Linked DNA regions of Homo sapiens: all the other regions are linked to region 1. Evidence: promoter capture Hi-C in 16 types of primary human blood cells and fetal thymus (Javierre and others, 2016). All regions are on one chromosome and are shown on one strand. The core of a region is centred on a gene start or on the middle of the fragment in contact, and the rest is flanking DNA. Distances in the headings are between cores, read along the strand shown.

Region 1 (3,916 bases), core at 393-2,892:
AGACAGGTTTATTCCCTGTTACATGGGGATTTGGAAATTGGGTATCCTAAAGCAAGTAACTGTTCAACCACCAGTCAAAAGAGGGGAGGGATGTTGTGCGAGTAATGAGTGATGGTATACCATCACCATTCCACTCGGCCACAAAGCCAGATACTTGAAATAAACCTACTCCAAATGTATCAGTTCAGTCTTGAACCATGGATTACATATGTTTACACTAAATATTTCAAATTGGCTTATTTGGAAATCTATGTAATATAAACTGATGTAAAGTGTGTTGTAACTTTTCAGCTGAGACAGTTGATGCCTTCGTCATGATTTTAGAATAAATTCTTAAGTTAATGCAAGTGCTTTTTAAGAGACTTTTTACAGATTTGTATGCTTTCCTAAAGCACTAAAGTTACAAATTAAAAAGCTTTAAAAACTTTGACCAAAAATTTGACAAAATGACATGTAAACTGACTTTTCCCGTATTAGTATTCCAAAGATGCTTAAAAGTGGCTTGTGGCATTTATGAGAAAGTCTTTGTGTCACATTTCAGGAAAGGACTTTGATTTCTCTTTGTTATTTAATCACTGATGTGGTCTAAACCCACGATAATATGTATCTTTCCTTTTAAACTGGATTTTATGTTGTCTCATTAAAATCTGCTTAAAGATAGAATAAAATTCATTATTTGTACATCTTAAGTGGTACTTTATGGCAAAAAGTATGGCCTAAGTAATTTTCAGATAATAACTGCTGAAGTACAGATTTTATAAAACTTGGGCATTTGGGAACTTTAATCCAGAGAATTTAGGAGTTGTTAGTCCAGAGATGCAGCTGACAGTCACAATTTAGAAAGTAAAAGATTACACCACTGTAATTTTATGAATGAGAAAAATGAAGTGGTTGTACAGTTCCCCTCAGTCAGTTTTGTTTAACATAGGTTTTCAGGTTGATGTATACTATGTACTATGGTTAGCACTGTTGTAGGTATTGGCAAAAGCTTTTTTCTTTTCAAAAAAAAAAAGTTTTTTTTCCAGGGTGCTTACATTCTAACTATTCTTTTTAATACCCTGTTATACCCCATATGGAACACAGGGAAAGTGAGGTAATCTGCAATGTCTATGCTCAGCTTTCCCTTTTTTTTTTTTTTTTTAACTTTAAGAGATGGGAGTCTTGCTATGTTACCCAAGATAGATGTAACTCTCAGGCTCAAAGCAATGCTCCCGCCTCAGCCTCCTTAGCAGCCGGGACTACACGCGCGCCACCACTCCCGGCTCAGATATACTCTTGGTTTTTCTTTTATATGGCAGTTAGCAAAGGTCACTTCTGATGGAACGACCGGTCTATGTGGTGAGCGCAACGCACACCAAACTTAACAGGTTAAATGGAGCTGGAGCGGAGCGCTGCAGGCAGGTGCGGGGCCTCGGTGCCCCTCAACCCGTGGCACCCAGGCAGCCGGGGCAGGACTATCGCGGGGAGATGCAATACTACTCAGTTACGAGGTGTGTAGTGCTAGCACGAGAAACTTGGAGGACGCGCTGACAAGCCGGGCTGCAGTCTCCGGGTCGCCCCGCCCCGCCCTTTCCCTGCCGCCGTGCGTGCCTCGGGGGGGCGGGGTCTGGCACGTCGTGACGCACTGCGGCCGCGTAGCGCCGCGGGTTTGATGAACGCGGTTCCCGGGGAGACTGGTACGGTTGCTGTGTGCTATGGAGCCGAGGGTCGTCAAGCCACCGGGGCAGGATTTAGTAGTGGAGAGTCTCAAAAGCCGCTACGGACTCGGGGGCAGCTGCCCCGACGAGGTGAAGCCGCCGCCTGAGGTCCGCGGGTGGGCTCCTGCTGCTGGGGGGCGGCCCGCTCCGTGCCCCGCGCAGCCGGCCTGGGGGCGCGCAGCGGCTCTGGTCCCGGCCCCGGCACTCCCGCCGTGGCTGCGGCTTGGGCCTCGTGGAAGCAGGCGGGAGGGGCGGGCGTTGCGCTGCGGGGGTGCGGGGGTGCCGCTTCACCTATGCCTCTGTGTTCCTGGTATACTGGGCATGGTGTGGTGTTGGAGAAAGTGCTATTCAGCTTTTTTTTGCAGTGATGTGAGTGGAGTTGTGAAAACAATTGAATTGCTTTTTAAAAGCGGCTTATTTCGAAATAATTTCGGACTTACTCAAAAGTTGCTGCAGTATTACCAAGAATTCCCTTGTACCCTCACTTGCATTCACAAATTAATATTTTGCCACATTGGCTTTACCATTCGTTCTCTCCCCTTCCCTCCCTACAAACGCATTTTTTCCCTTTGAACTATTTGAGGGTGATTTGCAGGCATCATGCCCCTTTACCTCTGAATAGAAATAACTTGTGCATTTTTCCTAAGCATAAGGACGTTGTCTTTTAATAACCACAGTAATATTTTCAGGAAATTTAGAATTGGTATAATATTTGGTAATCTAGAGTTCATAAGAAATTTCAGCAATTATCTCGATAAAACCTTTTATAGGAAAATTTTTTCCTAGTGCAGATCCGACCCAAGAACGAGCATTGATTGTATTTGATTGTCCTTTTTGTTGCCTTTAATCTGGAACAGGTTCACAGCCTTTGTTTTCTGTAAGGTTGTTTTTTTTTTGAGAAGTGTAAGAATTATTTATTGGATTGTTTCTCCGTTTGGGTTTATCTTATAGATGCTTCTTCGTTAGATTGATTATGCATTTTTGGCAGGAGCATGAGATGAGTGATGTGTGGCCTGCTGTGGGGAGGAACATGACGTTGGTTTGTCACATTATTGATGATATTAGTTTTGATCACTTGGTTAAGATGGTGTCTACAAGATTTCTCCACTCTAACCTTTGTAATTAATACATAATTTGTGGGGAAATATTTTGAGACAGTAAATTGATTTTTAGTATACAAATTAAATCTTTTCTTTTTTTTTTTAGTATGATTTTTCAAATTTTTATCAGTCTAAGTATAAGAGAAGAACTCTAACCTCCCCAGGTAAGCCGGTATTTTGTATATTTGGGGGTTTCAAAAATTTAATTTGAGGCTGGGCGCGGTGGCTCACGCCTGTAATCCCAGCACTTTGGGAGGCCGAGGCAGGCGAATCACCTGAGGTCAGGAGTTCGAGACCACTCAGGCCAACATAGTGAAATCCCGTCTCTACTAAAGATACAAAAAATTAGCCGAGCATGGTGGCGGGCGCCTGTAATCCCAACTGCTGGGAAGGCTGAGGCAGGAGAATCGGTTGAACCCGGGAGGCAGAGGTTGCAGTGAGCCGAGATGGCGCCACTACACTCCAGCCTGGGCAACAAGAGCGAAACTCAGTCTCAAAAAAGAAAAAAATAGGCTGCGCGCGGTGGCTCACGCCTGTAATCCCAGCACTTTGGGAGGCGAGGCGGGCGGATCACGAGGTCAGGAGATGGAGACCATCCTAGCTAACACGGTGAAACCCCGTCTCTACTAAAAAAAATACAAAAAATTAGCCGGGTGTGGTGGCGGGCTCCTGTAGTCCCGGCTACTCAGGAGGCTGAGGCAGGAGAATGGGGTGAACCCGGGAGACGGAGCTTGCAGTGAGCCGAGATTGCGCCACTGCACTCCAGCCTGGGTGACAGAGCGAGACTCCGTCTCAAAGAAAAAAAAAGAAAAAAAAATTTGAGAGAGAAGATTTTAAAAATAGTATTATTTAGACTTATGGCCAGTGCCAGATATTTTGTGATATATTGTTGTGGTAATCTTTCATGGTTTCTTTGTCGTTGACAGGTGATTTGGATATCTACTCTGGAGATAAAGTTGGTTCATCGTTAAAATATTCTGATGAAAGCAAGCATTGTAGAACACCATTGGGCAGCTTATTCAAGCACGTAAATGTGAATTGGTAAAGTACCCTGAAACTTTACTGTTGCTACCCCCTCAGTATCTCAAAAAACTGAGAAAGAGAAAAGGGCAGGTTATA
Region 2 (3,916 bases), core at 1,060-3,559, 830 kb after region 1:
GCCAATAGCCAACAACTGAAAACAACCTAGATATCCTTCAAACTGTGGCACAATCATACCATGGAATACTACCCCAGCAAACTGCAGATATATGCAACAACCTGGATGAATCTCCAGAACTTTGCTGAGTTGAAAAAAAAAAAATCCAATCTCAAAAGGTTACTAACTGGGTGATTCCATTATATAAGTCTTGGAATGACAAAATTATAAGAATAAAAACGAATCACTGATTGTCTGGGGTTAAGAAGGAGGCAGGGCAGGAAAGAAGTGTGTGTGGTTATAAAAAGGCATTAAGGGATCCTCCTGGTCCTGGGAACATCCTTTATCTTCACTGTATCAATCAATGACAATATGCTGGTTGTGATATCGTACTATGGGTTTGCCAGATCTTATTGTGGAAAGGTGGATAAAGGGTACAGGGTTCTCACTATACTGTATTATTTCTTACAACTGCATATTAATCTACAATTAACGCAAAATACAGTTTAATTCGAAAATAAGTAAAGTTAGCCTCAAAGCAAATTAAGTACAATTAAAAATAAATCTAACATCAGCTAAATGAAGTGTTCTCTTCTGCTCAAGCTTGTTTGGATACGTAATCTATGAATCAAAGAATTTATAAAACACATTTTCCTCACCAGGACCCCTCAATTTTCCCTCACTCACACATGCACACAAACACAGCAACTGAGACAAGGGGGTCCAGACAGAAAATTTGAGATTTTTAAAAAATACGCGATAGAATGAAAAGAGACCTGGGCTGAATCAGGGAGAAAAATCTTTGTCCAGGTTCTATAAAACAAACCAACGGTGTCACTTTGGACGGATCCTCTAATCTCTCAGCCTGCAATCTGAACTGTTTCTACAATTTAAACTTCTCATGTAGGAGGTTGCTTAGTAGAGTGGTTCTCAAACTTTTTGGTCTCCAGCCTCCAAAGAGCTTTTGTTTACACAGATGAAAACCACCAATGTTTACTATCAAAAATTAAAAGGGAGAATTTGTTTTTAAGAATACACAGGCATCGGGCCTCCAAACGGCGGTGAGATCACTCCATACCATGTAGCCTTTGGAAAACTCGATGTACACGACCTTGGTACTATTAACGAAAATAGTTGTAACCACACTTGGAAAACCGCTGGCTTACTAACAAGCGAGATAAATCTACAAAAGTAACTGGAAAGGTTCAAAACAGTGAACAAACGCGTTCTTTTAGAGTACAAAAGAGTCAAGGCGGGAAAAAAACGGTTTAAAATCCCAATGGAGGAAAACTTGGACGACCACACCATCGGATAAAACGGGAGAGCTTTTGAAAAGCCAGGGGAGCCGGGCTTTCTCCCGGCGGCAGGGAGGCTCGGAAGTGCTCACGGCTGCAAAAGATGACCGCTATTCAATCAGTCCGCACTGCGCCTTCAACTCCGTTATAGCCGTAAGAGACCCACAAACACCGCTGTGGATGTAACTTTTGGCAAAGACCGGGAAGTCGTTCAAGAACTCTCCCACCGTCCCGACGCTGGCGCCGCGCCCCGCGAACCGGGGTCCGGCCGCGCCCAGGCTCCGCAGAGGCTCCTCTCCCGCCCCAGGCGCCCGGCCGCCGCGGAAGCCGGGGAGCACTGGGCGGGCGGGGCCGGAGGGGGCGCGGGTCACAATCCCGGGCCGGACCAGGGGGCCGGTGGGTCGAGGGCGGGAAGTCCCGCGGGGGCCGGGGAGCGCGGGGCTGGGGCCCCGGCGTCGGCGGGACTCACCAGGTGCCGCGCCACCTCGGAGGAGGCCATGGTCGCGGGCAGGGGCACGGTGAAGCGGCTGTATCAGCCCGGCCCCGAGCGGCTGGTCCCGGCGACGGCGGCGGGAAGGCCGGAGGGCAGAAGCAACGGGCGGGGCGCGAGGCTAGGCTGCCTCCGCGACGGGGAAGGGACAGGGGCGGGGCCGAGCTGGAGGCCTCCGGGGGCGGGGTTGGGGCGGACGCCCTGTGGTGCGCGCTGAGCGTTTTGCCTGCGCCAAGCGAGCCCCTCACAGGAGCTACCCTCGACGCCTGAGGACTGAGCGTCAGCGTTGGGGCGGGCTGAAGGAGAGCTGGGACTCCAGGAAGACGGCGCGAGGAATGCAGGCGGGAACTGCGGAGCAGTGATTGCGGCCCTCGCGAGGCCGGAAGTGGGCGGGCCTTGAGGCGAGGCCGCCCTAGGTAGGTGTGGCCGAGACAGCGGGGAGCGGAAGTGGGCGTGGCCTGGTGGCGTGGGCGCGGGGCGGGGGTGCGGGGGGCGTGTCCGCCCGGGCGCGGCCCAGTGAGGCGGTGGCCGAGTCCTCTGGCCTCAGACGCGTAGGCTGGCAGCCCGCTGAGCCCGCCAGACTCCGCCGCCGTCGGGAGCCGGCCGCTGGGAGCCCGTCGCTATGGGACCGCGCTGAGCCGCCCGCTGGCGGGGGAGCAGCGCGGTCGAGGATGGAGGGGCCGGCAGAGTGGGGCCCCGAGGCGGCGCTGGGCCCCGAGGCGGTGCTGCGCTTCCTGGCGGAGCGCGGGGGCCGGGCCCTGCACGCCGAGCTGGTGCAGCACTTCAGGGGCGCCCTAGGCGGCGAACCGGAGCAGCGCGCCCGCGCCCGCGCGCACTTCAAGGAGCTGGTGAACGCCGTGGCCACTGTGCGCGTCGATCCCGCCGACGGCGCCAAGTACGTGCACCTCAAGAAGAGGTTCTGTGAAGGGCCGTCCGAGCCCTCCGGGGACCCGCCGCGAATCCAGGTGACCGCCGAGCCCGAGGCCCCCGACGGCCCTGCCGGGCCCGAGGCGCGCGATCGGCTCCCCGACGCGGCGGCCCCGGAGTCGCTCCCTGGACAGGGCCGCGAGCTGGGCGAGGGAGAGCCCCCCGCCCCCGCGCACTGGCCGCCCCTGAGCGCCGGGGCTCGCAGGAAGAACTCGCGGCGCGACGTGCAGCCCCTACCGCGGACTCCAGCCCCGGGGCCCAGCGAGGACCTGGAGCTCCCGCCACATGGCTGCGAGGAGGCGGACAGGGGCAGCTCCCTTGTGGGGGCTACCGCACAGAGGCCGGCCCGCCAGAACCTCCGTGACCTGGTGATGGGCAGCTCCCCGCAGCTGAAGAGGAGCGTGTGTCCCGGGGGCAGCAGCCCGGGCAGCTCCTCCGGGGGAGGACGCGGCAGAGGCGGGGGCGACTCAGACAGCGCATCGGTGGCCTCGTCGTCCGCGGAGGAGGAGAGCAGCGGCGGAGGCTCCGTGACGCTGGACCCCCTGGAGCACGCGTGGATGCTCTCTGCCTCCGATGGCAAGTGGGACAGCCTGGAGGGCTTGCTCACCTGCGAGCCCGGCCTGCTGGTCAAGCGGGACTTCATTACCGGCTTCACTTGCCTGCACTGGGCCGCCAAGCACGGCAGGCAGGAGCTTCTGGCCATGCTAGTCAACTTCGCCAACAAACACCAGCTGCCGGTGAACATCGACGCCAGGACGAGCGGGGGTTACACCGCCCTGCACTTGGCAGCCATGCACGGCCACGTGGAGGTGGTGAAGCTGCTGGTGGGGGCCTACGACGCCGATGTGGACATCAGGGACTACAGTGGGAAAAAGGCCTCCCAGTACCTGAGTCGGAGCATCGCCGAGGAGATCAAGAACCTGGTGGGAGCCCTGGACGAGGGTGACGGGGAAAGCGCCGCGGGTAGCGGCGGCGGGCGCTGGAGGCTTTCAAAGGTGCTTCCCTCGCATCTCATCACCTACAAACTCTCACACGCCCTAGAAGATGGAGGGGACCATCACCACCATCACCACTCGGCTGAGGGGTGGGTCGGAGGCAAAGCCAAGGATCCAGGGCGCAAAGCCTCGGGCAGCTCTAGTGGACGTATAAAACCCAGACTCAACAAAATCCGATTCAGAACCCAGATCGTCCACACCACACCCTCTTTCAGGGACCCAGAGCAGCC
Region 3 (3,916 bases), core at 439-2,938, 760 kb after region 1:
TAGAATTTGTTCTAAAAAACTGAACCTAAGAATTAATTCAATAAAATACTATCTTATGTCTATAATTCCCCAACAAAGGGCACAGCTTTATTTAGACATGAAATTCAAAATAACTCATGGTAGGTCAGCAGCCATTAGCTGTGTACTAGGGCCACGGCTGGGCTATTCAATAAGAGCAGCCATTTTCCCCCAGCTAACTGATCCTTTTCACACTGTGATGTATTTTTATTTTGTTCATTCATTCATTTTGGCAAATACTGAACACATAACATGTGCCAGGTGCTGTTCTGGATGCTGGGGAAACAGCAGTGAACAAGAGGGACAAGGTCTCTCCTCTCCAGGAGCTGACATTTAGTTGGAGAAGGAAGACAAAGCATAAGGAAGCAGAAGTAAGAAGCGCTAGGAAGATCCGACAGGGCAATGTGACAAGTGTGGGCAGGGCTGCCAGGGAGGGTGGCTGGGCCTCTTACTTCTTACGGTCCTTGTCCTTCCTCAGGTTGCTGCCTGTTGCCAGAAAGGACTGGCTGTGAAATATCTCGGAGGTAGCTTTCTTTTTAGAGAAAGCAATTATTTCTTCTTCCAAAAGTCTTCTCTTTTCTTCAAGCTTCATTCTCTCTTCTTGGTGAAGTCTCTTAAGGTGCTCAAATTTGGCCTGTAGCTGGAAACAAAAGTGCAATCCCCACTACTGACACAGCGCGGCAGCAGAGGCACGCTCTCCAGCTCAGCAACACAAAGGCGGACCCCATAGCGCAACACAGAATAACCTACACAGTCAAAATCTTTCTGAAGTCTCAGAAGTTCATAGTTCAAGGAAAAGTTTACATATGGAATTCCCTTGGTAACTTTAATTTAAATGAGTTCCCATGCAAAAATCATAGCTTTATGTACAAAACTATTTTTAAAACATTGTGAACTTTTCCTAGAGTTTTTATTTTCTCGGTGTGTATTTTCCCTACAAAACTTCTTAAAGTCTCTCAAGTCCATGCTCAATAAAAATAAGAGATGCAAAGTATAGAAAGAAATTACCAGAAAGGAAAAAAACAACAACACTATTTTCCAAATAAAATATATGCAGTAAACAGTTATTGAAAACTGTACTAGTAAACATCACTGGAAAGCAAGTGTCAATTGTCAACTATGTCAAGAATGTTAAAACTGTATTCTATTTTTCCATAGTCTTTCAATGTCCTGAGATCTAGGCTTAAAAAAATCCTAAATTCAGAGAAAGCTTTACATATAAAAATACTCATCATAGTAGAATTTACACTATAATAGGAAAAACATTGCCTACATAGCCAATAAAGATAAAGAATAAATTAATGCTAAATACATTTGATGCAGCTGTAGGAGAGCAGAATGTGCAGGACTGTTGAGCTGAGGGCAACTAAGAAGCAGCAGATACAGGAAAGCTCTCTGACCTCCCTTTAGGCGCCTAAAGGCAGGATACAGATGTACAAAGAAAAAAGGTATCCAGCCCCCTTCCCCAACCAGGGAGAACAAAGGTTAACCACCAAAGACAACTTCAGACCCTTTTGGGCCTGGAGACTGGTACCAGACAGCTCTACATTAACTAGCTTTACTGACTAGCCTTCATCTGCCAGCTATGTGCCTTCCTCCAAGTTGCTGCCTCTAGAGACTCCAAGTCCTTTTCCTTTGTCTTGTCATTTCTGTAAAAATTAACTGTTCTTTGTTGAAGATGCTATAGAAGGTAGAATGCAGTCGCCTCTTTGAGAACTACTCATTGACTGTATCACCCCTGTATATGTGAAATATACATGCTAATAAACTTGTTTTTTTTTTTTTTTTTTGGTTAATCTGAAAATAAGGGGTCATTCCAATAAGAACCTATAGGGGTTATTCTTCCCGTATACAACTGTTAAATGAGTTTCAAGAGATTTCTCTTAAGTGAAAAAAGCAGAAGAAAAAATTATTTAAAGAATACAATTCAGCAGTTTTTCACCTCCTTGGGGCTGAAAATCATCTTGATAAACCATATAAAGGGAGCAATGTCACCTTAGATGTCAATTTTGGGGCAGGCCTTTTAATTTATTTTGTTCCACAATTTAAGGAATGCCCTATATGGATCATAGAAGGCATATTTCTCAAAGCTATGAAGGGCATAAAACTCTGGAAACTTACAAATAAAAAGGAAGCTTTAAAACAACTGGGATATACCAAAAGAAAACATCTATCTAACGTTTTTACCATGATGGCTGGCACTGAGTAAGCACTCGATAAATATTAGCCATTGTTAATAACAAAAAATAGGAAACTCAGCTTGCTCCAGCTGCCACCCTGGGTAGTTCTTTCTGTGTCCTGTGCTCTGTTACAGGTGCAAAAGAGAAACCCTTAGCACACATGTGCTGGGGTAACTGTGGGAGCAACGTCTCCCTGAGGATTACTTAGGAGCTATGTCTTTTTCATTTTTATACCCCCAGCACAGCACACAATACTGCTCATAAAAGAATTCTAAAAGATGTAGAAGAACTAGTAATGAGAGGAAATACAGATGAAAGTTATGTGAAGTTCTGCATGCAGTTCAGAGAGACAAGGTCCAAGGAGAATGTAGGTGGACCTGGTTTAATTGTGGCTTACCTCAAAAAAAAAAAAAACTAGGGTCTTAAGCCAGCTCCATAGGAATCAGCTGTGTGCTGTGCCCTCTAACAACACAACCACAGTGTCTAGAATCTACATTTTAAAAGATAACCTTATTTTTGGTCCTCTGATCTGGTTAGGTAAATCTGACATTAACATTTTAGTTCTGGGTAGAAACCTGGCATTCATGCAAACAAAGCAGGACTTGGTGTCTAGAAAAAGACGACATAGCTGGGCGTGATGGCTCATTGAGGTTTACAGGCTCATTGGCTCACGGAGGTTTACACGCATGAGCCACAGCGCCTGGCTATGTTATCTTTTTCTAAGACACCAAGTTGTCTAGAAAGGGGGAGACGTTTGGGAGGCCGAGGTGGGTGGATTGCCTGAGCTCAGGAGTTCAAGACCAGCCTGGGCAACACGGGGAAACCCCGTCTCTACTAAAATACAAAAAATTAACCAGGTGTGGCAGTGTGCGCCTGTAGTCCCAGCTACTCGGGAGGCTGAGACAGGAGAATTGCCTGAAGCCGGGAGGCCGAGGTTGCAGTGAGCCGAGATAGCGCCATTGCACTCCAGCTTGGGCCACAGAGTTAGGCTCCATCTCAAAAAAAAAAAAAAAAAAAAAAAAAAAGACATAATATTTGAGGAAATATTTCACTGAAAATCAGAGACTGAGAGAAGAAACCAGAGAGCTAAACTCTGGTCTAATAAAACTGTTATGTTCCAAATATGGAATAGGTTGTCCTGTGAGCCAGTGACCACCTGATAGGAGAAGTATTCCAAGGGAAACAAGGTTAAAACAGATAATCGATTAAGGCCCTCCTAACATAAGATGCTTTTATTCCAGAGGATGCCTTTTCAGAGAAGCATCAGTTCCTTAGTATTTGCTTATTTAAATGGTTCCTGCTTTTAAAAAAGTTACATGTTAGGTATGTGTGTGTGTTTAAAGGGCACACTCCCCAGATGTCATTCAAATCGGTGGCACAAACAAAGAGTGGCAGTTCTCTGCACACGTGTGCATCGGTGATGTGGGAGAGGAGCAGGAGTGGGACAAAGTCTGGAAAGGAAGCAGCAAGGGCAGGTTTCTATCACATGACTAGAGATAGCTCTCTGGTTACTCAAATGGAGGTTGCATACCTCACATGAATATTAAAATATCTTGAAAGGTCACACAGCACTTTATACATCATTCATGAGGTTGACTAAAAAATTCCAGGAAAACTACAAAGAGGGAAACATTAAACAAGGGGGCAGGGAAGTGTGAATGTGACTGTTATTCACACTGGGTGGCATTTCCAGCTCTGGCTATCAACAACTATTCCAT
Region 4 (3,916 bases), core at 379-2,878, 740 kb after region 1:
TCAGAGGGCAGTTCTCTGACCTCCATCCACTGTAAGGACGGCTCAGTGGTCACACGCTGCCCACTGTCACCTTCTCATGACATGGGGATTTGAATGAGATCATGTGTGTGAAAGCCGGAGTGAAGCAGCCATAACACGCTCTGTGAATATCAGCTCCTGCTAGGGATCTTAGGGTGACAGAGTGGGACCCTGTCTCAAAAAAAAAAAAAAAAAAAAAACAAAACAACACTGGGCGCGATGGCTCACGCCTGTAATCCCAGCGCTTTGGGAGGCCGAGGTAGGCAGATTACTTGAGGCTAGGAGTTCGAGACCAGCCTGGCCAACATGGTGAAACCCTGTCTCTACTAAAAATACAGAAATTAGCCAGGCGTGGTGGAGCATGCCTGTAATTCCAGCTGAGGCAGGAGAATCTCTTGAACCTGGGAGGCAGAGGTTGCAGTGAGCTGAGATCGCGCCACTGCACTCCATCCTGGGTGACAGAGAAAGACTCCATCTCAAAAAATATATAAATAAATAAATAAAAATTAAAATTAAAAAATCTAAAAAGGCCTTCCATTTTTAAATTTTTAAGGGTTTCTAAATGAGAAAGTCCTAATTATAGAATATATAGAAAAGAAGGGAAAAGAATCAAGAAGGAAACAAATGGCACATGGAATTCCCAAGCCCTGGGTTCCTCCTCGGCGCAGATCTTCAGTTATGTTCCTTTCAGCAGGGTCAGGATTCATCCGTCCTCTGCATCTTCACTCAGTGCTTCTGCAGCTGCCTGCTGTCCCCACATCACAGACTAGTTCAACACTTTCCCATGGTGGGCATTTAGGCTCCTTACCGTTGTTTTTTTTTTTTTTTTTGTGGTTATGGATGAGGCTTCAGCAAATATCCCTTGACATCATTTTTGTTTTTGTTTTTGTTTTTTGTTTGGTTTTTGAGACAGAGTCTCACTCTGTCACCCAGGCTGGAGTGCAGTGACGCGGTCTTGGCTCACTGCAACCTCTGCCTCCCGGGTTCGAGAGATTCTTCTGCCTCAGCCTCCTGAGTAGCTGGGACTACAGGCATGTGCCACCACGCCCAGCTAATTTTTTTTGAATTTTTACAAGAAATAGAGACAGGTTTTCACCATCTTGGCCAGGCTGGTCTCGAACTCCTGACCTCAAATGATCTGCCCACCTTGGCCTCCCAAAGTGCTGGGATTACAGGCATGAGCCACCATGCCTGAGGGCTGAAAGTGCTAGTTACCTGCACCCTCACCAGCCGGAGCCCCACAGGCCTACACTCCCCGAGCTGACGCCAACCACAAAGTGGTGGGCTGGTGACGTGAACCCCAGGGCACTGCAGCCATGAGGAGGTCCAGCACCCGGCATTCAGGGCAGGATGGAAACATTCCTGGACAACAACTTGGTCACCATCAGGGTAGCTCAGGACAACCTGCTCGGTGCCCATTTGTTGTAAGATGCCAGAGAGGAGGCTCTCAGTGGCCCTCTGGCCACTGTCCTTACTAGCAAAAGCAGCCTCCTCCCTAAATCATTGATGCGTTTCCTACTTGCACTTCCTACCTGCTGGAGGCCTGTCCTGGATGTGGCTCCGAGTTTCCTCCTCTGTTCAGGTTTTGGGATCTCTCTGGTCCTACCATTGTCATTGGAAGCAGATGGAGGGTAATTTTCTTTGTGCTGCTATTGCTAATTTTCCCAGCTCAGAAGCCTCAGCATTAACAGTCTCTGCAGCCCACTGTGGCCCAGTGAGTGGGGAGGTGGTGTCACCCAGGTTCTGGAGCTGCTCGCAATCCCGAGCACCAGAGCCACCACAACCAGTCACCATCAGGGCCCCTGACACACGCCCACAGGTGACCAGGAATCAGGGCACAGTAAGCACCAGACTAAGTTCCTTATGTCTTTTCACAGATGCTATTTCCCTCTTTTGTCTCTCAGGAAAGCTCATCTGCCACCCTCTGAGACCTCAAATTCGAGGCACAGGCTTCCTTTCTTGGGTTTAAGCCCAGGGCTGCCTGCTGTTGCCTGTGGCCCTGGGCAAGGCACCAGCCTCTCTGAGCCACTCTCACCTCCTTTTTATTTTTTATTTTTTTGAGATGGAGTCTCATTCTGTCGCCCAAGCTGGAGTGCAGTGGTCTGATCTCAGCTCGCTGCAACCTCCACCTCTGGGGTTCAAGCAATTCTCGTGCCTCAGCCTTCCAAGTAGTTAGCTGGGACTACAGGCATGTGCCACCATGCCTTATTTATTTTTGTATTTTTAGTAGAGGCAGGGTTTTGCCATGTTAGCCAGGCTGGTGTCGAACTCCTGACCTCAAGTGATCCACCTGCCTTGGTCTCCCAAAGTGCTCGGATTACAGGTGTGAGCCACCACGCCCGGCTCACCTCCTCTTTGAATGACACCAGAAAGCAGACTTTCTGGAGGCCCAAGGGTGGGAGGAAGTGCACGGATGTGTCTGCCATGCACTCTGGCACAGGGGGCTCACCGATGACAGCTGCAATTGATATTCTCCCCGGCTCTTGGGTCCCCAGATGCACCCTCTCTCCACCCTTGCCTGGGACCACCTCAGCCTGGTGAATTCCTATTCAACCCTCTGGTGGGCTGCTTCCTCTCTAGGAGACCCTCTCTGATGGCCTACAAATGTGTTCTCAGAGATGTGTCTGCCTCAGCCAGCACATGTTCGACTCTAGCACGAGGCTCGAGCCTGCCTGCGTGGGGGCTGGGTATGCACAAGGACTTGGTGTAGTGTCTAATGAGGATAGTGCTTGCCATAAAGCTCACACTTGACAAATTGTGCTTGACCAATTAAATGTCTTAATTTAGCTTATAGAAATAATGGATTTTTACAATAGCTACCAGATGACCCTACACACACACACGTGCACAAATACACATACCTACAAATGTTTACATGTGCAACACCTCACACAAACCCACACGAAGCAGATGTGTGTGCCTGAACCCAGCTCAGCCAAAGTGCATCCATCAGCTGCCGCACGCCTTCACTGTGCTGGTCCTGGAGACTAAGCAGAGAGGCCTGGGCCCCAGGCAGCCCATCTCTGGAAAACCAGTTGCTTGCCTAGGAAGCTGACACAGGCAGAACATGGTATGTTAGGACAAGGATGGTGTTTGTGTCCTTCCCCTGCAGCGGGAAAGGAGTTTGAGTAACATAAGAAACAGACGTGCTGGAGGCATTTCCCCACACCTGAGATGTGTCTCACAGATCCTAAACTCCAGAGACTGGGGAGCCACCATGGACTGGAAGACCCCCAAGAGGAATAACGCAGGCCCTGTGGGACCCTGGGCATGAGAACGGATGTCACTGGACCCACAGCCACATTAGGATGAATCCCATAGGTGAGTTCATAGTATCGAATCATGTGAATTTTCTAGGGTAGATTGTTTTAGTCACGTCAGGTGTTAATGTCGGGGGAGTGGCAGGGAAGGCATATGAGATTTCTGTATGAATTTTGCAACTGTTTTGTAGGTCTAAAATTATTTCAAAATAAAAGATTTTTTTAAAAAATAAATAGATGTGGCTGACAGGTCGCCAATCTTAGCAAGTTTGCTTTGCAACTGATTCCCTATGAAGATCCTCAAGTTGTCGTCAGAGTCACCAGGGAAAGAAGCCACTGTCAGAAGGAAACAGAGTGGAAATAACGACTGAGGAGCCAGGGAGGGCAGAGCAGGAGAAGCCAGGCAAGGGCTGGAGGGCGAGGAGGATGTGCAGAGTGGAGACCCCTGCAGCCAGGCGGGAGGACGGGTGGATAGTCTGTGGGCTGTGCCCATGAGCAGCTTCCAGAGTGACTGAGCATGGGCTCTTCCAGGAATGCACCTGAGGCATCCCAGCAGCTGAAGGGAGGTCATCAGGGTCAGCTGGAGGCCCAGATGAGTCACAGTGACCTGGGAGCAGGACTGGGCCCAGCAGGGCTTC
Region 5 (3,916 bases), core at 836-3,335, 720 kb after region 1:
GGGACCGTCTTGGAATCGGTCAGGACCTTCTAGGGCTGAGCAGTCTGTCGGAGTTCTCTTCTCCCTTCTGTTTCATGTCACCCTTCCAGGGGGTTCCCTTCACTTCTCAAAGAAGATCACATTCAGCTGACCACAAGGGAAACATCTGGGGCCTGTGAGCTGTTGGAGCCCTGCTTCTGTTCCGCCTGTGGTCCCAGCATCTGAGGCTGGCTGAGTTCTGCTGACTGTCCTCTCTGTGCTCTCCTCCAGCACCAGAAGCAGTGGTCTCCATCTTCCCACAGTGATAGGAGCCTGTGCTACCCAGCCTGTGGCTCCAGAACTTGACCCCTCCCTCAGTGAAAATCCTGGGCTCGGCCCTAAAGCCACACCAGGGTCAGCTGGTGTTTAACATGGTAAGGGTTAAATCCCAGACACCCAAGAAAATGGCAGCAGCTGTTTGTCCAGGGCCCATCATTTGAACCTGCCCCAAAAACCAACTGGAATAAGTCAAAAGAGGACTTCTTGACTCAACTGAAAAGCTGAGGGCAGACAATCAGACGTGTGCAAATGATGGGGCTGGTGTTCCATGAGGACACTTGGCATTCTGCTGGACCTAGGGATGTGGGATATCTTGCAATGTGTACAATCGTCCCACGTGGGCAAAGCCTGTCCTGTCCCAAATGCCAAGAGTGGTGGGTTCACTAAGAAACGCTGGTGTAGATGAGTTTGCTTCAGGCATAGCTGGGTCCAGGTGCTCACATGACGTTTGTGGGTATTGCTGGGCTCTGCTGCCCTCCACGTGGCTCCTTCCTCAGCAGATTTCCCCATCTTACAGCACAATGAGGACCAGCAGGTTCAGGGTGCCATCTGACACCTTCCCCATCCCTGCAAAAATAGGCCTGCTCCTTCTCCATGGGCCCAGCCAAAACCCTGGCATTGACTCTCACTGGCTCCGTTTGGGCCCGTGCTGCCCTCCCTGACTCAGCCATTTTGGACAGGGGACATGTATATACTGATTGATAGCGCCTGAGGTGTCAGCCCTGCCCAGACTTCATGGATTGAGAGTGGGGGTGAGAAGATACACGTAGAGCTATTGGCAAAAACAAAAGGAGCTCATGACCGGGCAGACAAAAACTGCAGACGCACACTCCCCAGGGCCGCTCCTCCAGGACATTGCCCTGGAACCCCATGGCACTGTGCAAAAGCACGCGTCTTCCGAGGGCCACCATACCATATTTAGGAAAATGAGATATAAAAACTGGATCTAAAAGAAGTCCCAGAGGAAACGTCAACAGACGTGGACATCATTACAAATGTGAAGAAAGAACTCTTTATTTGGAAAAAGTAACGTTCTGTAATGTTCCAAAAAAAAAAAATGGAAGCAGATGAAAGCCTGGAGACAGCCAGGAAGTGTCACATGGGACACCCACTCACCACACCCCTCGATGGCCTGGCTTCACCCACTCACTTATCAGATCAGTGAGCAGTCACAGATGAATGTAAGTGCTCAGACAGGGCACCCCAGATAAGGCATGAAAGGAGAGACACAGCTGCCCACCCCAGCCAGAGTTCACATCTGGAGAGGAAGGCAAGCCGTGTGGGTAGTCATGGACTCGGCAGTCTGTGCCTGAGGAGCAAAGGCGCTACAAGCCCGGGACGGGGGGATGCAGTCCACTCCATGATGGGTCCCAGAGCGCTTCCTCTGGACGTTCTTGGCAAGAATACACAACACCAGCACATGAGTCAAGGAGCTCACAACCAGCTTACCCATTCCTGCCGGGAGAAATGGAAGGAAGTGCCCATCCGTCAGGGTCACACAGGACTTGCCTGGGTCTGGGCATCTTCTCTCCACCCCTTCCCACTCTACTCATTCATTCAACAGCTACTTCTGCTCTGGGCCCAGCACCAGGGTCACGGAGATGAATCCAGGCAAGAGGACCCACCTCATGTATTCAGGCCTTCCTGGAGGTCTGCCTGGTGGGGCCCAGCCGCCTGTCAGATTATGCGGTGTTTGGTGCTATGGAAAGAAGTGTGCAAACCCACGTGCCTGTATCAGTCACTTAGGCTGCCATATCAAAATACCATGCACTGCGTGGCTGAAACAACAGAAATATATTCTCTCAAAGTGCTGGAGGCTGGAAGTCCAAGGTTGAAGTTGCAGCAGGGTTGGTTTCCTCTGAGACCTCTCTCCTCGGCTTGCACACCGCCGTCTCCTCACTCTGTCAAGCAGCTGTGGCGGGTCGTCTTGCCCGGATTCATCTCTGTGCGTCTGTATCCAGTGTTCCTCTTCTTTTTAAAATGAATTTGTGTAAATTTATGGGGTGCAATTTTGTTACATGCCATAGTGGTCAAGTCAGGAGTTTTAGTGTATCCATCACCCGAATAACATACATGACATGTCCCCTTTAAGCAATTTCTCATCCTCCACCCCCTGCACCCTCACCCTTCTCACAAGGACACCAGTCAGGCCAGATTAGGCCCACCAATGGACTCATTTTAATTTAATCTCCAAGCAGAGACACACGCTGAGGCACTGGGGGCTAGGACTTCAACATATGAATTTTCGGGGAACATAATTCAGCCCATGTGCCTGTGCTCATGGAGACCAGGTCATAATGAAGTCAAAAGTTAAATTAATCAAAATAACTAGGCGATAGCTACCGGGCAAATACTATAGGGCAAAGTACTAAGGGATCGCAGGAAACTCTTATCTAGTTGGAGAGGTGAGGGGCATGGAGGGCCACTTAGAGGGTGTCCGGGTCTTATCTGGACCTCCACACTGTAGTCTTGTTTAGAAATTCACAAGGCAGGAAGAGGGGAAAGAATGTTCGGTTGGCGGGAACGGTGTGTGTGCACACCCCAACCCGAGGCTGGGGAGAGCTTGGCAGGATCAAGAAACTGAGGGAGCCCAGAGCAGGTGTGGAGGAGAGGGCTGAGGTGAGAATGGCCAGGGGTAGGTCTCTGAGCCTTCCAGGCCAGAAGCAGGAGGCAGTGTTTCCTGGGCTCTCAAGGGGTGTTTAGATGCAAACTGTGTCGGGAGCTCCCTCTGTTGGTGGCACAGGGAATGGCTCGTATGAATGTGGGAAGCTGGCACAGCAGATGCTGGGCAAAGGGCAAGGCGTCTCTGCCAAGGGGGCGGTGAGGGCATGTGGGGGAGCAGACAGCCCCGAGGGTCCTTTGACAAGTCAGTCCGATGTGGAGGCCGAGGGGAAGCCTTCCACATGTCCTAGAGGGAAACCCCGAGGTAGCTCTTCTCACATTTGTGCAGTGACTACCAGACTGAAGGAACCCCGGTTCCATCCTCACCCTCTGCAGCCCAGAGGGCTGATGGGGTCCAGGGCTTCATTTCTGTTCCTAGCCGGGACCAGGGGCTCTGAGCACCCACAGCCCCTTCCCAACAAAACAGCCACTTGTGTGTGCCATGGGGTGACCCCTCCTCCCTGCCCAGCCTGGGCTGGGGAAGGGCCCCGTCTGACCAGGAGCTGGCCTCCTCCAGCTAAAGCCAGGGTGAGCAGAGTGGGGCCCATGCTGGGTGACTGCAACAAAAGCAAGAGAGGCTTTCCTGCAGGGGAAGCGGCAGAGAGCAAAGGTGGGACGGGTGGCCGGAGCTATGGGGAGTGGGCCCTTCCAGGAGCCCCTGGCCTCCTCGTGGGTGCTGAAGATGGCAAGTGCGTGTTAAGCATGTACTAAGCCCACCCTCTGCGCCCGCCCCATGCTTAGCACTCTACATCCATTGCCTCGTTTTTGTCCTCACATCAGGCTTATGAAGTAGGAATTATGACCATGCAATTTCACAGATGGGGAAACTGAGGCAGAGAGCAGTTAACCAACTCGCCTCAGGAAGGGGCAAAGAGGTGCGGCACCTAGGATTCAAGCACTGGCAGTCTGGCTCCAAAGGCCGCACTCCTAACTCCTCAGCCTGTTCTTGGCCTCGGGA
Region 6 (3,916 bases), core at 612-3,111, 560 kb after region 1:
TGGGAAGGGGCATGCCCGGTGACCACATGCTGTCTGTTGCTTGCAGAATCCCTGCCTGCTTCCCTATGGCAAGGCCCTCTACAGCTACGAGGGGAAGGAACCTGGTGACCTCAAGTTCAACAAGGGGGACATCATCGTCCTGCGGCGCAAGGTGGATGAACAGTGGTACCACGGCGAGCTGCACGGCACACAGGGCTTCCTCCCAGCCAGCTATATCCAGTGCATCCAGCCCTTGCCACACGCCCCGCCCCAGGGAAAAGCACTTTATGATTTCGAGATGAAGGACAAAGACCAAGACAAGGACTGTCTGACCTTCACCAAGGTAAGGTGAGCCCCGGGGTGGGCCCCGCCAGCCCATGCAGCCTCTGTGCCACCCAGGGCTCTTCCCAGCCACAGACCTATAGCCAGACAGTCTTTCTTCAGAGTCTGAATCCTGGCTCCTCCCGGAACCCTGGGCAAATGACCCAGCCTCCCTCCCTGTGCTTCCATGAATGGGGTGATGGTTTTTTTTGGTTGAATGCTATGGAGGGCACCAGCTTGACACACAGCTCCAGCCCAGAGCTACATAGGAGCTTGAGATAATATAAGCCTCCATCAGCACCAGGAGCAGAACCCTCAGTTAACCTGAGTCATGGCTCTAAGCGCTGACCCAGGTGCAGCAGAATGACGCCTTTCCAGGACTCTTGGGGTCCTGTGAGAGGGGCTCATCAGGGGAAACTGCTACAGAGACCCTGGTCAGCTCACAGGGAGATGATAGCTGGGGTCTCACATCTGTGCATCACAGCCCTGTCCTCTAGGGCACCTGAGGCAGGGCCACCCTGGTGCGTAGGGATCCCTGTGAAGCAAACATTTGGGAGCAAACAAAATAGCACTGACAGGTGAAATTGAGTAGGAGGGTTGGGTGAGGTGCAGAAGAGACTGGTTCTGGCTGTCCTGGCAGTTGCTGTTGAATAATCATCTGCACCAAGTGCTCGGCCAATAAGCTCACACTTGGTCTTTACAGCTGTCCCAGGTTCCAGGGGAAGTAGTTGGAACCTCGTTTTCTCCATGTGTAAACCAAAGCTCTGAGAGGCTTTGTAACTTATCCAGGCTGCTTGCTGGGTCCTCTCTCCCTCCTGCTTCCCCTTCCTCCTTTCCATCTTCATCTCCTGTCTCTTGTGTCTCCTCCATCCCCTGCCACTGCTGCACCTGCTCCCCGCCGCCCCCAGATGTAAATGACAGAGCCAGAATCCTAATGCAGATCTCTGATGTTAACACTCAGCATTCTTCCCACCTCCCTACACAGGGAATTCTTCCCTTATGTCGGCCTCACTGTATTTTAGATGCCCAGAAGTTGTTGTTTTCTCTCTCCTCACTCGTTCTGTCTTGCCTGTGTCTCTCTGTGTCAGTATTTCTCTCTCTCTCTCTCTCACACACACACGCACAGAGTTGTAAATAACAGAACTAGAATTCTAACTCGAATCTCTGCTTCTAAAGCCCACATCCTTCCTGCCTCTGAGAGGCCATTGCTCTCTCCCCCATCTGCTGAGTGCAGAGCTCGAGGTGGCACTCTCTGGAGGGCGGTAGGAGAACCATGCACAGTGTTTTTGAGCAAAATTGGCATGTCCTGCGTACAGCTGCTATTTATGTCTTGTTCTATTGTTCAGCCTGACAATGAATAATCTATTTTTCATTCAGGGATTCAACTCCTTCTCCCTTCCTTTTATCAAGGTGTTCTGATGCTAATTCCGATTGTCATCTGGCTGCACAGCTTCCCGGGAAACTGCACTGGTGCCTCCCTCCCTCCCCACTCAGTCGGAGGGCGAGAGCAACAGCTTCCTGGGGCTATTTTTAGGCACACAGAAACCCAACTTGCTTCTCTGCCCAGTGGACTCTTCCCCCTAAGAGAAGACCTGGGACCACTGGTGCCCCAGGTGGTCACTCATGACCAAGAGCAGGGACCTCTGAACTCTCAGGGTCCGGTCAGGGCCTTGCTAAGGAGACAGACCCCATAATGGCTCTAGGCTTCTCCAGGCTTGGCGGGCTCCAGGCTGCAGAGCCGAGGCCCTCCTCCAGGGGCCTCACAGGAGGAGGCTCTCCACTCGGGAGAACCCACTGTGAACGGGCTGTCGCAGGGCCCTGGAGCCTCTGGGTAGGCCTGCTTCTCTGGGCAGAAGTGACTGCCTGCCTTTCCTGTCATCACCATATAACCTGCTGCATTCCACGGGCCTCTGCCCAGGATGTGCAACCCCAGGCTGAAGGCTAGAGCCCACTGGACAAGAGGACAAAGGGCACCTGCCCATTTATTCCACAGAAACATACCGGGCCCTGACTCTGTGTCGGGTACTAGACCTGCTGCTCTTCTGGAGCCCAGAGTCAGGTGCGGGAGACAGGCCAGTGGAGAATGTGCAGAAGACAGGCCAGAGGCTCACGAGCTGCATCGGATCACCAGGGGCAGGCCGGGCATTTAGTGTGGGCTCCTGAGTAGTCAGTGATGGAATTCCATGTTCCATATTTCACAAGAAACAGTGAAATTAGAGCCATCAGGCTTAGACTCATTCTGCGGTTGGCATGTGGGGTGGGGGTAGCCGAGCAGGGGTCCATCTGTTCCCAAGTGGGCAATGTCACCATGGCTGCCCAGGCTCTCTGGAAGGTGACCTCTTGGTTGAATTGAGGTCAGAGGCGCCAGCCACGGGAGGCCCAGCATCTCCTGTTACAGGATCTGTGACGGCTCCCACAGCAGACAAGGGGGAAGTGTCATATCACAGATTCTTTGTTCAAGGACTTTCTTTACTTGAATCCTGTGAGTTAATGTGGAGAATTAGAGGCCTCTGGGTGTGATCCCCAGAGGGACTTGTGCTGTGACACGACCTTCCTGCCATGCTCCTATGCCCACTTTGACCCTCTGACCCCCAAAGGGCGAGGTCGGGCAGAGATTGGCCACCCCTGCTACCTGTTCTGTCCTGTTGCATCTCTCACTCCTCAGTGTCCGCAAATAAAGGCTCCAAGAGACATGGGCAACTCCATGTGACTCTCCGCTCAGTTCCTGTTTTCCCCCACGGTGGGTCCGACCCACCTTACTTCCCCCATGCCTGGCATGCAGCTGAGACGCACACACTGGCTCTGACAACCTCCATGTGAATCAGACCTCCAGGAACCAAATGATTCCAGTGCTGCAGCGTAGGTGCTGGTTCATGCCAGCTTGGTCTCCCCTCTGGGGAATGTTTTTATTCTTTGGATATGTTCCATTCCTGAGTCAGAGAGGAAAGAAGGGTCTCTGAAAGCTACAATGGTATAACCTGCCTTTATACAGCATCACTGTGGCAGACTGATGGAGTTTAAATTAGGTGGATCAAAGCAAGATTTTTACCTTTGGTGTTTGCTTTTGAATAGTCCTGTTAAAGTGGCATTAATTAAAGTCCTTCTAAAATCTAGTTTCTGCTTTATTTCAGAAGAGAATGAATAATCAGTTTTTGTAAAGCAGCTTTAAAAAGTGATATTTTATTACTTCTTAGTAGCCCGACTCCAGAAAGCTGGGCATGTGCAAATAAAAAGACGACAGGCAGGAAGAGCTGTGGGCCCAGCTCTGCCAGCTGGTTTCTGAGGAGCCTCCACACGTGCTGGGCCAGTCACCCGGGAGGGGCTGGCCTTGGCAGGGCCTTGCAGTGAGGGCCCCATGCCAGCTGTGTGACTTAGGGTGACACATAACCTTTCTGGGCCAGGAGCACCTCGCCTTCCCAGTCTCAGGATGCCAGTGTGCACTCTGTGGTGTGCTGAGAACCACATGATATAAATAAATTGTGGAGCCTAGGGCTGGGAGTGCAGGAGAAGAATGTGAACTACTCCATTGTTTGAGCAGCTAACTCTATATTGTCTTACTCAGCTCACCTGCAAGATTCGGCAAGGGTTTATTGAACCTCTTCTCTGTAACTTTCAG

Evidence for each region. Contacts are between HindIII fragments. The CHiCAGO score rates a contact against its expected background, and 5 or more counts as called.
Region 2: a contact is called between the fragment with the promoter of SOWAHC here and the fragment with the promoter of CCDC138 in region 1, in 3 of 17 cell types (fetal thymus, total CD4 T cells and naive CD4 T cells). The highest score is 8.0, in fetal thymus.
Region 3: a contact is called between a fragment that was not itself captured here and the fragment with the promoter of CCDC138 in region 1, in 1 of 17 cell types (activated CD4 T cells). The highest score is 5.6, in activated CD4 T cells.
Region 4: a contact is called between a fragment that was not itself captured here and the fragment with the promoter of CCDC138 in region 1, in 2 of 17 cell types (total CD4 T cells and non-activated CD4 T cells). The highest score is 6.9, in total CD4 T cells.
Region 5: a contact is called between a fragment that was not itself captured here and the fragment with the promoter of CCDC138 in region 1, in 5 of 17 cell types (total CD4 T cells, naive CD8 T cells, non-activated CD4 T cells and 2 more). The highest score is 13.8, in total CD4 T cells.
Region 6: a fragment that was not itself captured here is called in contact with the fragment with the promoter of CCDC138 in region 1 in 1 of 17 cell types (naive CD8 T cells); the score reaches 5.3 in naive CD8 T cells.

What each region holds. Positions count from the first base shown.
Region 1 is chr2:108,785,129-108,789,044 of GRCh38, forward strand. CCDC138 (coiled-coil domain containing 138) reads left to right here and starts at 1,643. Exons shown (of 15, transcript NM_144978.3): 1 at 1,643-1,787; 2 at 2,904-2,961; 3 at 3,724-3,838. The coding sequence starts at 1,695. It overlaps RANBP2 (RAN binding protein 2), which reads left to right. Exons shown (of 29, transcript NM_006267.5): 29 at 1-681. RefSeq lists a silencer at 1,452-2,041. The HindIII fragment of the contact is 5,748 bases long and covers 987-3,916 here.
Region 2 is chr2:109,612,055-109,615,970 of GRCh38, forward strand. SOWAHC (sosondowah ankyrin repeat domain family member C) reads left to right here and starts at 2,310. Exons shown (of 1, transcript NM_023016.4): 1 at 2,310-3,916. The coding sequence starts at 2,436. SEPTIN10 (septin 10) reads right to left here and starts at 1,912. Exons shown (of 11, transcript NM_144710.5): 1 at 1,744-1,912. The coding sequence starts at 1,773. It also overlaps a transcript of RANBP2 not described here. RefSeq lists an enhancer at 802-1,711 and silencers at 1,564-1,653, 1,684-1,933, 2,194-2,363. The HindIII fragment of the contact is 4,568 bases long and covers 581-3,916 here.
Region 3 is chr2:109,545,580-109,549,495 of GRCh38, forward strand. It overlaps SEPTIN10 (septin 10), which reads right to left. Exons shown (of 11, transcript NM_144710.5): 10 at 471-658. It also overlaps a transcript of RANBP2 not described here. Among named protein-coding and RNA genes, the nearest start is that of SEPTIN10, 66 kb to the right of the region's middle. The HindIII fragment of the contact is 925 bases long and covers 1,227-2,151 here.
Region 4 is chr2:109,524,249-109,528,164 of GRCh38, forward strand. It overlaps a transcript of RANBP2 not described here. Among named protein-coding and RNA genes, the nearest start is that of SEPTIN10, 88 kb to the right of the region's middle. The HindIII fragment of the contact is 6,274 bases long and covers 1-3,916 here.
Region 5 is chr2:109,507,286-109,511,201 of GRCh38, forward strand. It overlaps a transcript of RANBP2 not described here. Among named protein-coding and RNA genes, the nearest start is that of SEPTIN10, 100 kb to the right of the region's middle. RefSeq lists an enhancer at 208-317. The HindIII fragment of the contact is 5,398 bases long and covers 1-3,916 here.
Region 6 is chr2:109,347,628-109,351,543 of GRCh38, forward strand. SH3RF3 (SH3 domain containing ring finger 3) reads left to right here. Exons shown (of 10, transcript NM_001099289.3): 2 at 47-322. It also overlaps a transcript of RANBP2 not described here. Among named protein-coding and RNA genes, the nearest start is that of MIR4266, 36 kb to the left of the region's middle. RefSeq lists a silencer at 1-177 and an enhancer at 1,415-1,484. The HindIII fragment of the contact is 5,961 bases long and covers 1-3,916 here.